Regions from separate parts of the Homo sapiens genome. Here regions 1, 3 and 4 are each linked to region 2. The links are contacts of gene promoters, found by promoter capture Hi-C in blood cells and fetal thymus (Javierre and others, 2016). All regions are on one chromosome and are shown on one strand. The core of a region is centred on a gene start or on the middle of the fragment in contact, and the rest is flanking DNA. Distances in the headings are between cores, read along the strand shown.

What was found. The method cuts DNA at HindIII sites, captures the fragments that hold promoters and counts their contacts. A CHiCAGO score of 5 or more calls a contact.
Region 1: a contact is called between the fragment with the promoter of SLC32A1 here and the fragment with the promoter of FAM83D in region 2, in 2 of 17 cell types (activated CD4 T cells and total CD8 T cells). The highest score is 8.2, in activated CD4 T cells.
Region 3: a fragment that was not itself captured here is called in contact with the fragment with the promoter of FAM83D in region 2 in 7 of 17 cell types (total CD8 T cells, total B cells, activated CD4 T cells and 4 more); the score reaches 8.5 in total CD8 T cells.
Region 4: a contact is called between a fragment that was not itself captured here and the fragment with the promoter of FAM83D in region 2, in 1 of 17 cell types (total CD8 T cells). The highest score is 5.9, in total CD8 T cells.

What each region holds. Positions count from the first base shown.
Region 1 is chr20:38,723,114-38,725,924 of GRCh38, forward strand. It overlaps SLC32A1 (solute carrier family 32 member 1), which reads left to right and starts at 1,373. Exons shown (of 2, transcript NM_080552.3): 1 at 1,373-2,001. The coding sequence starts at 1,612. The HindIII fragment of the contact is 3,119 bases long and covers 356-2,811 here.
Region 2 is chr20:38,925,086-38,927,912 of GRCh38, forward strand. FAM83D (family with sequence similarity 83 member D) reads left to right here and starts at 1,332. Exons shown (of 4, transcript NM_030919.3): 1 at 1,332-1,840. The coding sequence starts at 1,358. RefSeq lists a silencer at 950-1,309 and an enhancer at 1,420-1,519. The HindIII fragment of the contact is 27,857 bases long and covers 1-2,827 here.
Region 3 is chr20:38,752,443-38,755,341 of GRCh38, forward strand. It overlaps ACTR5 (actin related protein 5), which reads left to right. Exons shown (of 9, transcript NM_024855.4): 4 at 2,515-2,732. Among named protein-coding and RNA genes, the nearest start is that of ACTR5, 5.4 kb to the left of the region's middle. The HindIII fragment of the contact is 687 bases long and covers 1,113-1,799 here.
Region 4 is chr20:38,703,063-38,705,762 of GRCh38, forward strand. No RefSeq gene overlaps it. Among named protein-coding and RNA genes, the nearest start is that of SLC32A1, 20 kb to the right of the region's middle. The HindIII fragment of the contact is 3,871 bases long and covers 1-2,700 here.

The sequences.
Region 1 (2,811 bases), core at 123-2,622, 200 kb before region 2:
CTGCGGTTTACTGCTCAGGAGGAGCCCGGCCAGGACATCAGCTGGGGACTTACGCAGGGACCCATTCAGAGCAGCGGACCCTCACGGAGACTACTACAAAGGGACTAACACAGGCACGAACGCAGGCAACCCCATTCGGGAACACATACGTAATCCAACACACTAGCTCTGGCACACACACTGGAATGCGCGCAAAACCACACAGACACAGAACACACGCGGTTACCAAACCTCATTCTCAGAGGCCACACTGATCCAACCTCAAGCAGAGTCTGATACAGCATCGGTCTTTGTCTCTGGGTCTCTCCCTTACTCGCGCTCACACACCCGTACCCCAATCAACACAAACAGCCCAAGCTTTCACAGCCTGGAGGCGGCCGTCGGAGCAGGGCCCCAGCGCACCGCGAGCCTCTGCTTCCTCCGCCTTGCAGCGCCGCGAGCCCTTCTTTCCTCCGCGCCTGGCCCCGTCTGCGCCCCTCTCGGCGTGGGCATTCGCAGACCCGCTAGGAGGCTGACGAGAGGTGTCCTCATAGAGTCCTGCCTTCTTCCAGACCCCCAAACGAAAAGAAAGAGAAAAGCCAACCTTTCGCCTCCATTCTGCACGCATTTGGAGAGCGGCTGGTGGCGAGCGATCCGCACAATCGCTTCCCTCGCGGCGTCCCTGGACGGGCGGAGAGAACCCGGGTGACTGAGCCTGAGGCTGAGCTTCCTTGGGAGCGATCCATGCCAGCCACTTCTACCTTCAAGGGGGACTCGCGGCCGGGTTTACGCGCGAAGGATGGGTGCCAGGGAAACTGACTTATAGACGACCCGCTCCGCGAGAGACTGACAACTCAGTCCTGCGGGCTTTCGGGGCGCCCAGACCAGTCCTTAGCCAGAGGATCTGGGGCTGCACAGCTCCCGGACCCTGGAGGGGGTGGTCCGGGGGTGGGAGACTGCGAGCATCAGCCCACGCCGGCCCCCTCCCACCCTGCGGCGGCGAGGTGGGAAGGGCCAGGATGCGAGCTTAGCACCTCCCCTAGAAATGCAGCACTTCGCCCCCCCACCTCCCCTGCCCTCGGCGCTCCCTCTTTCACGCGCTCCCTCCCGCCTCCTTCCCAAGGGCGCCCTTCTTCTGCCCCCAGCTCACGTCTGAATCCCTCGGCGCCCCCTTTCTCTTCTCCTAGCCCCTTCCTCACGTCCCCTGCCTCCGGGTATTTCCTCTCTCCAATCCCCCACCCCCGCACCGCCTGATTCCGAGGGGCGGGAGCGCATTGGGCTGCGCACGGGTGGGGGCGCCGCGCCAGCTTCGCGTAGCTGCTCTGACGCCGCTGCCGCCGCCGCCGCCGCCGCCGCCCTCCGCAGCCCAGCTCGCGCCCCGCGGCAGCTCCGCAGTGCACTAGCCACCACCGCCGCCGCCGCCGCTCCGCCAGACCTGCTGCCAGCTTGCCCGGTCCAGCCCTGAGAGAGCCTCGAACGCCAGCTGCGAGGGTCATGAGCCAGAGAGCCCCGGGGCGCCGCGCGGAGAGCAAGCGGAGATAGCGACTTTGCGCCCCCCAGCCCTCGCCTTCTTGCATCGCGTTCCCCGCATCCTCGGGTCCTTCTGTCCTTTCCGCTGTCCCCACCGCCGCCATGGCCACCTTGCTCCGCAGCAAGCTGTCCAACGTGGCCACGTCCGTGTCCAACAAGTCCCAGGCCAAGATGAGCGGCATGTTCGCCAGGATGGGTTTTCAGGCGGCCACGGATGAGGAGGCGGTGGGCTTCGCGCATTGCGACGACCTCGACTTTGAGCACCGCCAGGGCCTGCAGATGGACATCCTGAAAGCCGAGGGAGAGCCCTGCGGGGACGAGGGCGCTGAAGCGCCCGTCGAGGGAGACATCCATTATCAGCGAGGCAGCGGAGCTCCTCTGCCGCCCTCCGGCTCCAAGGACCAGGTGGGAGGTGGTGGCGAATTCGGGGGCCACGACAAGCCCAAAATCACGGCGTGGGAGGCAGGCTGGAACGTGACCAACGCCATCCAGGTAAGCGCGGGATTCCCAGTTCTGCCTGTCCTCCCCCCTCCCAGCTCAGCGTGCCGGGCTCTGCCCCCGACAGTCGCCCGGTGATCTCGGCCTGGAGACCCCCTCCTGTACCCAGGAATCTCCCTTTCTCCATCCCTCCCAGCCCTGCGCGGGGACCTACGCCCCCAGGCGGTGTTTTCCGCCCTAACCCACGCTCCCTCCCAACGGCACCAGCTGCAAGACCGCTAGGCTGAAGTTCGGTCTGAGACACCTGTCCGGAGACACTGCAAAAGTGAAGGAAATGGGGGGAGGGAGCAGGAAGCGATGAGAAAGAAAGAAAATCAGGATTGGAGGGCACGGTTTGGTCTTGGACTCTGGAACGGATTCACAGCTGCATTTTTGGGAGGAAAGAAGAAGGGGAAATCGCTGAGGTCGGAGTCTCCTCCCCCCGCACACACGCATAGACACGCACACGTATATAGGCAGGCACACCACATGCCCACAGCCCCCCTTCCCACGAACAAAGGCGCAGGCACAGGCGCACACGACATGTATCTATATATAGACCACAGTACTATCCCCAAATGCACCTGCGTACACCCCTACAGCTCCACAAACAAAAGCATATACCTGCACATACCAAACACACGAATATTCGTTTGAACATATGCACACACACATGCACAGATGCATGCAGACAGGAACCAGCCTGCTCCCTTGGGTGCGGCCCTGTTGGAGACATACAGGTATACACACACGAAAGCACACACATGCTCCCACACAAACACATTTAGTCCGCAATAATCCAGCATTACCTGTGCACAGACTCGC
Region 2 (2,827 bases), core at 82-2,581:
GCATGCTTGTAGGCTGATAGAAATGAATCGGTAAAGAGGGAAGCTGATGTTCCAGGAGAAAGAAGAAGATTGCTGGAGCGATGCTGGTGAGTAGTAGAGGGGCTGGAAATGCCCAGGCAGAGGGGTTGGGGTTGGATGGGCACAGGCACAGTTCATCAATGCCCAGTATACGGGCAGAGATGCAGACAGGAAGGTAGACTAGATGGCCGCACGTGGACGTTCCCTTCTTACTGTTTCTGTGTTCTTGCTGACATGGAAGACAAGCTGTCAGAGAGGAAAAGGTAGAGAGAATGAGGGAAATGCGGCCTACCAGGCAGTTTTTTTGTTTGTTTGCTTTTGTTTTGTTTTGTTTTGTTTTTAGATGGAGTTTCGATCTTGTCGCCCAGGCTGGAGTGCAGTGGTGCTATCTCGACTCACTGCAACATCCGCCTCCCGCGTTCAAGTGATTCTCCTGCCTCAGCCTCCCGAGTATCTGGGATTACAGGCGTACACCAAGACACCTGGCTAATTTTTGTATTTTTAGTAGAGACGGGGTTTCACCGTGTTGGTCAGGCTAGTCTCAAACGCCTGACCTTAGGTGATCCGCCCTCCTCGGCCTCCTAAAGTGCTGGGATTACAGGCGTGAGCCACCGCGCCCGGCCTCCTAGCAGGCAGTCTTACGGATTATGAATTTAAAACATGACCAGTCAGTAAGCATGGTTACGCTCTTTTTGTTTTTTCTTCAGCCCTGTAGGGCTGCCGGGGTGCAGGTGGAAAGTAGGGTATAACCACGGTTGGTTGGGGTTTTACAAGGCAAAAATCGATGAAATGAGAGAAGACTACCCGAGGGTGTAATCAAAGGAGCAGTCCTAATACGATGAGCCGGTATTCTTTGAATGAATGAATACATGGTTAAAGGCAGGTGATAAAGGCGATATGGTTGGCCATGCCAAAGCACTGAGAGCCTAGGAGCAGCGTGGCCAGAGTCTCCGGGAGTCGGCACCTGCCTCTCCTCGTTGTCTAGGCCTGACTGTCCCTGGCCTTGCACGGCCGCGCAGCGGGGCGACCGGCAGGGGGCGCGCTGGGATGGCCAGGAGCTCGGCTCTCCCCGCTCTGTCCCTGCTCTGCGGCCCGCCTCGCCCCTGCAAGTTTAAATTCCTCTTAGCAAGCCCAGCATCGCAGCCAATAACGCATCAGGGGGCGGAGCCGTAGAGGCTTGCGCCCCGCCTCGCTCCGCTATTGGAAGGAAAGCAGCCAATGGGAGAGCCGAGGCGGGGAGGTGCGGCCAATGGCGCGGGCCTGTTTGATTCAAAGGTTGCCTATAAAGCGGGACTGCACGCCGGTTTTTGTCCGAGGGCTGTCGAGTCCGAGCGCCGCCATGGCTCTGCTGTCCGAGGGCCTGGACGAGGTGCCCGCCGCCTGCCTGTCGCCGTGCGGGCCGCCCAACCCGACCGAGCTGTTCAGCGAGTCACGGCGCCTGGCTCTGGAGGAGCTGGTGGCGGGCGGCCCCGAAGCCTTCGCGGCCTTCCTGCGACGCGAGCGCCTGGCTCGTTTCCTGAACCCCGATGAGGTGCACGCCATTCTGCGCGCGGCGGAGAGGCCGGGAGAGGAGGGCGCGGCGGCGGCGGCGGCGGCCGAGGACTCGTTCGGCTCCTCGCACGACTGCTCTTCGGGCACCTACTTCCCCGAGCAGTCGGACCTGGAGCCACCGCTGTTGGAGCTTGGCTGGCCCGCCTTCTACCAGGGCGCCTACCGCGGCGCCACGCGTGTCGAGACGCACTTCCAGCCCCGCGGCGCTGGCGAAGGTGGCCCCTACGGCTGCAAGGACGCTCTGCGCCAGCAGCTCCGCTCGGCGCGAGAGGTGAGCGGCCCTCCAGGGCCCTGGGTCGCACGGGAGACCCCCTTCAAGAATGGGAAATTGAGGCCTGCTGGGAGTACGGGCCGGGGCCACTACCTCCTCTGCGCCCTACCGGAAGCGCGCGCGGGCTAGGTGGTCCCAGGGTCTCCGACTCACACCCCACTCTGCGTGTCTCCCCCGGATCCCCCGGGCCGCTCCTCGTGGCAGGGGATAGTGGGAAAGCCTCGGTTCCCAAGGATGCGAATTGTGCCCGGGTTCCATCTCCTAACGTTCATATCCCTGAAGGAGGGACCAGAAGTACTCTGAGTTCCAAATTTCAGTTAAAATCAAACTTGGAAAATTGCCTATTTCCCTGTCTGTCAGCCAACGCTAGATCCCACTTTCAGGAGCTTCTTAGGAGACTCATTACCAAAGAACTTACGCAGGGAAAGTTCCAGAAAGATGGTCTCCAGAGACAACTACGGGGCATTAGGAAGCAATTATTATTGCTAATTACTTTCATGCATCTTTTGCTGTAAAAAGCAGATAAACACGAGAGTGGCAAAGTGAGAGCCCTGCCGCTTTTTCTTTCTTGTCTTTTTTTTTTTTTTTTTTTTTTGAGACAGATTCTCTTTTGCCCAGGCTGGAGTGAAGTGGTGGGATCTCAGTTCACTGCAACCTCCGTCCCCCGGGTTCAAGTGACTCTCCTGCCTCAGCCTCCCAAGTAGCTGGGATTACCGGTGCCCGCCACCACGCCCGGCTAATTTTTGTATTTTTAGTAGAGACGGGGTTTCTCCATGTTGGCCAAGCTGGTCTCGAACTCCTGACCTCAGGTGATCCACCCGCCTCGGCCTCCCAAAGTGCTAGGATTACAGGCGTGAGCCACCGCACCCGGCCCCCTGCCGCTTTTTCTACTGCCAGAGACTGGAGGGGAAACTGGGGCAAGGGGTTTGTTTTCCATAGGCTGGGTCTGTGCCAGATTGCAGTGGTCTCCTAAAATGCAGATACATT
Region 3 (2,899 bases), core at 206-2,705, 170 kb before region 2:
AAACTGATAACTTATGTTGTATAGGTTCCCTTCACAAATGGTAGCTTTTATAACTTGCCTTTAATACAGAACTTGGAATTGCACAACTTTCAGCTTTTCCAGATATTAAATATTTTTAAGAGTGAGCAGAACATATCAGACTAAAAATATCTTAAGCTAGAAAACAATTGAAATTGTTTTATTATACCCTTATAATAACATCTATGCTGCAGAAACACCTCTTTTTCTTTTCAAACTTGTCTTGGACTTTTGGTTGTATTTTACTTCAAATTAAAGTATGAGTTTTAGTTGCTATTGTCACATGAATGTGATGAAAATATCTTCCTCGTGAATTTAAATAGTTCATATAAAACCAAAGGACTACGGACAATGCCACTGTGAATACAACTCTATTCCAAGAATGGATTTGCTTGTTGTCATTGAGGGTACTGATCTCAGCTGACCAATAATGAGCTCCTGAAGGACAAAAACTGCATCTTTTTTTTTTAATTGTGAAAACCATATAACATAAATTTGCCATTTTAACCATTTTTAAGTATACGTTTCATGTGTGAAGAGCTGTGTTTTAATTAACTTTAGAAAGCATTTATTAAACATCTGTTATTCCTGGGATACAAAGAAGTTGCGGGAGACAGATAGGGAAATAAATAATTGATGAGGACACTCAGTCCGGAGAGTTAGAGGCTTGCCAGAAGACACGGCTGAGGCACACAGCTCTCCGTGCTCCCACTTCTCTGTTCTCCAGTTGCTCTGGTATTGACTCTTTTTTTTTAGTTAACTTTTTCTTTTACAATTCTATGATATGATTATAAAGAGAGAGCATGAGGGAATTTTTTGGGATGATGAACTCTTCCGTATCCTGATTGTGGTGTTGATTACATATGCTTTCTCTTTATAATCATATCCTGTTTTTATCCACAATAAACAGGAACAAACTACTGATACACTCAACAACTTGAATGAATCTCAAAGGCATGATGTTGAGTAAAAAAAAAAAAAAGTTTCAAAAGGTACATACTATTTGATTCCATTTATGTGACATTTTGAAAAGATAAAACCATAGTGATAGAGAAGAAGTGAGGGAAAGATTGCCTGGGCTTGGGATAGAGACAAGCTTTTGGGTGAACTTGTTTTCATTTCTCCAGAGTAAATAGATTGCTGGGTCATGTGCTTGCATGGTATGTCTTTCCGTCCTTCTACTTTTAATCTACCTATATCATTATATTCAAAGTGAATTTCTTGGTAGTTGGATGATTTTTAAAAAAAATCTATTCAGTCAACCTCTATTTAATTGTTAGACTAAACCATTTATAATTAGTTTTAATTATTCATATGCTTGGATTTAGGTTCACCATTTTATTATTTGTTTTTGTTCCTTCTGTTTATTGTTCCTCTGTTTCTCTCTCCTGCCTCCTTTTAGGTTATTCGAGCTTTTTTTTTTTTTTTTTAAAGTATTTTATCTGTTGTGTTTTTTACTCTACCTTTTTATTGTAGTTTTTAGTGGTTGCTTTAGAGATTACAGTAAACACAACTTTTCACAGTCTACTTAGATTCTGTATTTACCACTTCAAGGGGAATGTGGAAATGTTAGCAATGTACAGACTCCTTTATTTCGCCCGGTTTATCTTAAAGTTGTCTTATTTATTTCATCTGTATACATTGGAAACCCATCAGACAGTGTTGTGATTTTTACTTTCAGTTGTCAAATAGGTTTTAAAGAACTCGTAAGGAGATTAGTCTGTTATGTTTAACCAGATTTTTATCATTTCTGTTGCTCTTCCTTCATTCCTGATGCTCCAAGCTTCCTTCTGGTGTTGTTTCTCGCTGAAGAACTTACTTAGCAGTTCTTTTAGAACAGGCCTGCTGGCATTATGTCCAGGTTTGGTAGCTGCTTTTAGTTGATTGAGTGGATTCAGGGATTGGATGGAGTGTATTTTCTCCATCTGACCTATGTCTGAAATGCTGGTACTGACTTTAAAAAAAACAATGGAGTCGGCCGGGCATGGGGGCTCATAGCTGTAATACCAGCACTTTGGGAGGCCGAGGCGAGTGGATCACGAGGTCAGGAGATCAAGACCATCCTGGGTAACATGGGGAAACCCCATCTCTACTAAAAATTCAAAAAAATTAGCCGGGCATGGTGGCAGGCGTCTGTAGTCCCAGCTACTCAGGAGGCTGAGGCAGGAGAATGGCGTGAACCCGGGAGGCAGAACTTGCAGTGAGCCGAGATCGCACCACTGCACTCCAGCTAGGTGACAGGGCGAGCCTCCCGAGTACCTGGGATCACAGGTGCCCGCCACCACGCATGGCTAATTTTTTTGTATTTTTAGTAGAGACAGGGTTTCACTGTGTTAGCCAGGATGGTCTTGATCTCCTGACCTCGTGATCCGCCCACCTCGGCTCCCCAAAGTGCTGGGATTACAGGCGTGAGCCCCTGCGCCCAGCTGGTATTGACTTTAATTGTTGTGTTAATAGTGTTTCCATTTCATAACTTTCAAAATTGTTTCTTTGAAGAATTACACAAATGGCGGTGTCCTGATTATTATGAGAATAATGTCCACAAGATGCAGCTCCCATTTTCCAGCAAGCTCCTGGGCAGCACTCTGACCTCTGAGGAGAAACAAGAAAGGCGGCAGCAGCAATTGCGGCGGCTGCAGGAGCTCAATGCCCGGCGGCGGGAGGAGAAGCTGCAGCTGGATCAGGAGCGTCTGGACCGACTGCTATATGTGCAGGTAATAGCAGACACAGGGACGGGCGCCCTTCCGTGTTAACAAGATAGTCTCAGAAGATTTTCTTGCATATTTTTCCATTGGCCTTAAGATGCTTTGACTGTTTGTCACCTTTGGGGTCACGAAGGAGTCCAGGGGGATCATCAGCATAGAATACAGTGTAGAAGCAG
Region 4 (2,700 bases), core at 127-2,626, 220 kb before region 2:
GGGAGTGAGCCATGTGGATGCTGGAGGAGAGGGTTCTAGGCAGGGGGATAGTCAGTGCCAATTCCTGAAGCAGGAAGAGAACCAGAATGACAAGTAGCAGCAAGCTGGGTATGAAGAGAAAGATAAGAAATGAGGTCAGAGTAGGGGAGGCAGATCCCACAAGGCCTGGTGGGCCACCCTGAAGGTCTTTGGCCATTGCTCTGAATGAGATGGGAGCCACTGAAGGTCTTTGAGCAGGGGAGGCCAGGATCTGACCCATGTCATAACAGCCTCACTCCAGATTCTGTATTGTGTGGAGATTGCAGGAGGGGTTGGGGCAAAAGCAGGGAGTCCAGACTGGAGACATTGGCCAGAATTCAGCTAAGAGATGCTGGTGTTAGTAACATGATGGGGGTGATAATGACATGAACTGACCAAAATCTAGATCACAGATTCATGGAGTATAAAAAGCTGACTTTCCCAGGCCCGTCTTTTCCTGGGGGCAGTCTCCCTTTGGCCCGATGCCCTGGCCCACCCTATATGGTGGGTTGATGGCACTGTCACTCCTGCAAACCCTGCTCCTGTCCTCACTCCACCACCCTGCTGCATGCCCTGGAGGAGACTTCTGGGACACTGAGCCCCTGCCCATCAGGCCCTTCCAGATCTGAAGTGTCTGGCCCTGTAGCAGCCCAGCTCCCAAATTCTCACCCCTCCTCTTCTTTAACCTTAGCTGCCTGACCCCCTTATGGACAGGAGTCCCTGCTCCCCTCTCCGGCCTGCCCCAGGCTCCAGCCACATCAAAAGGCTTGCAGTTGCAGTTGCCCAAATGCACCAGGTCTTTCCCATCTCTGGACCTTGCTAGAATGCCCCTCCTTCACCCTTTTTATCTAAACAACTCCTTCTATTTCCTCAAGACTCAACCCAAGTGTCATCCCTTCCAAGAACTCTTCTGAGGCCCCTTCAAATTGGGACATCCCTTTCCCCTATTCTCTTAGCCACAACACTTTCTCTGGGGAACTATGTCTCCCTCACATAACTCTACACCTAAGCTACCTGAAGTGAGCCCACCTCCATGAACTTGCTCCAGTCCGTGGCTCCCTATGCCTGATGTTTAGAACACAATGCAACTTTATCTTACCTTCCAGCTCTATCTTCCACACATGCCTTCTGCCTTCTCCAGCTCCTACCACACTTGACATCCCCCACTCCTTCGCCATGAGTTTTCCCCTTTCAGTGGATGAGAAGTGGCCCAGGATGTTCCCAGTGACACATTAGCATGTGCCCTATGCAGAGGGGCAGGATGGACTTTCAGATGCCTGGGGGATGACAACGAGGCACATGCCTGGGAGTGAGATGAGGCTGTAGTGCTCTTGAGCTCCTAGTCAGACAGGCCTGGGGTTGAAACTCGGTGGTGACACCTACTAGCTATGTGACCTTGGGCAAGCCATTTCAACTCTATGAGCCTTGGTTTTCTCCTTTGTTTCGTTGTTGTTGTTGTTTTGTTTTGTTTTTGTTTTTTGTTTTGAGGCAGAATCTCACTCTGTCACCCAGGCTGGAGTGCAGTGCCATTATCTCAGCTCACTGCAACCTCCGCCTCCTGGGTTCAAGCGATTCTCCTGCCTCAGCCTCCCTAGTAGCTGGGATTACAGGCACACACCACCACACCCAACTAATTTTTGTATTTTTAGTAGAGATGGGGTCTTACCATGTTGGTCAGGCTGGTCTCGAACTCCTGACCTCAAATGATCCACCCACCTCAGCCTCCCAAAGTGCTGGGATTACAGGAGTGAGCCACCACACCCGGCCAGTTTTCTCCTTTGTAAAATGGAATATGAATACCTGCGTGGCAGGGGTGTCATGAGAGCCCAGTGAAATAATGAACACAAAACGGTTAGCACGTGACTGACATTTCATGAAAGCATCACCAAATTGCCATAATCATTGTCACGAAACAGATCAAACAGAAAACCTCTGCCATTTTTCTAACCATAGCAGTGACAGGGGAATGTACTTTTTGCTCAGACCTGACAGTGCCTGGCTTGTCAGGATAATTCAGGATCCTCCAAGACCCAGCTCTGGGTGGTTCATGACTAGTCAGTTGCAGTTTGACAATTTTGTATTGAGGACCTGAGTCATAGAGGTCCAGGGCTGATGAGACGGTTGTTCTCTGTGGCCCAAGACAGGGCCATGGGAGACCTTGGCCTTAGGGTTGCAGAGGAAAAGCCTCCAACTTCAGCCTTTCTCTCAGGTGTCCTCATCAGAACAATTCTCAGTGGCAGAATTTTCAGGACATCAGCCTTGTCCAAAATGCAAGTTCCAAGGTGATGGAGGATGTGAGTCCAGACATCCCTCAACCAGCAATGGCAGAGCAGATGGGTGTTCCACACAGGCAAGGGGGCTCAACTGAAGACCTCTGGGGCCAGATATATCCCATTGTCCCCTTTGAGCTCCCTGCCAGTTCTGCTCAGGACCACTCCAGGTCTTAAGTACGTAGCAGCTTCTTGGGGTCCTTTAATTCCCCTCTCAAGTCCAGGCCAATCTTCCAACTTTTGGTGCAGGAAGGACTCTGTAAGCTCTGGTTTCGATTGGGTAAATTTACACCTGTATCCTATGGGTCCTTGTAAGTCTCTAGTTTGAGATTCCATATTTGCTTCCAATACCAGAGGTGTCAATTAACCCTGAGCATTCATCTCCAACCCAGAAGGACTGAAGACAGCATGA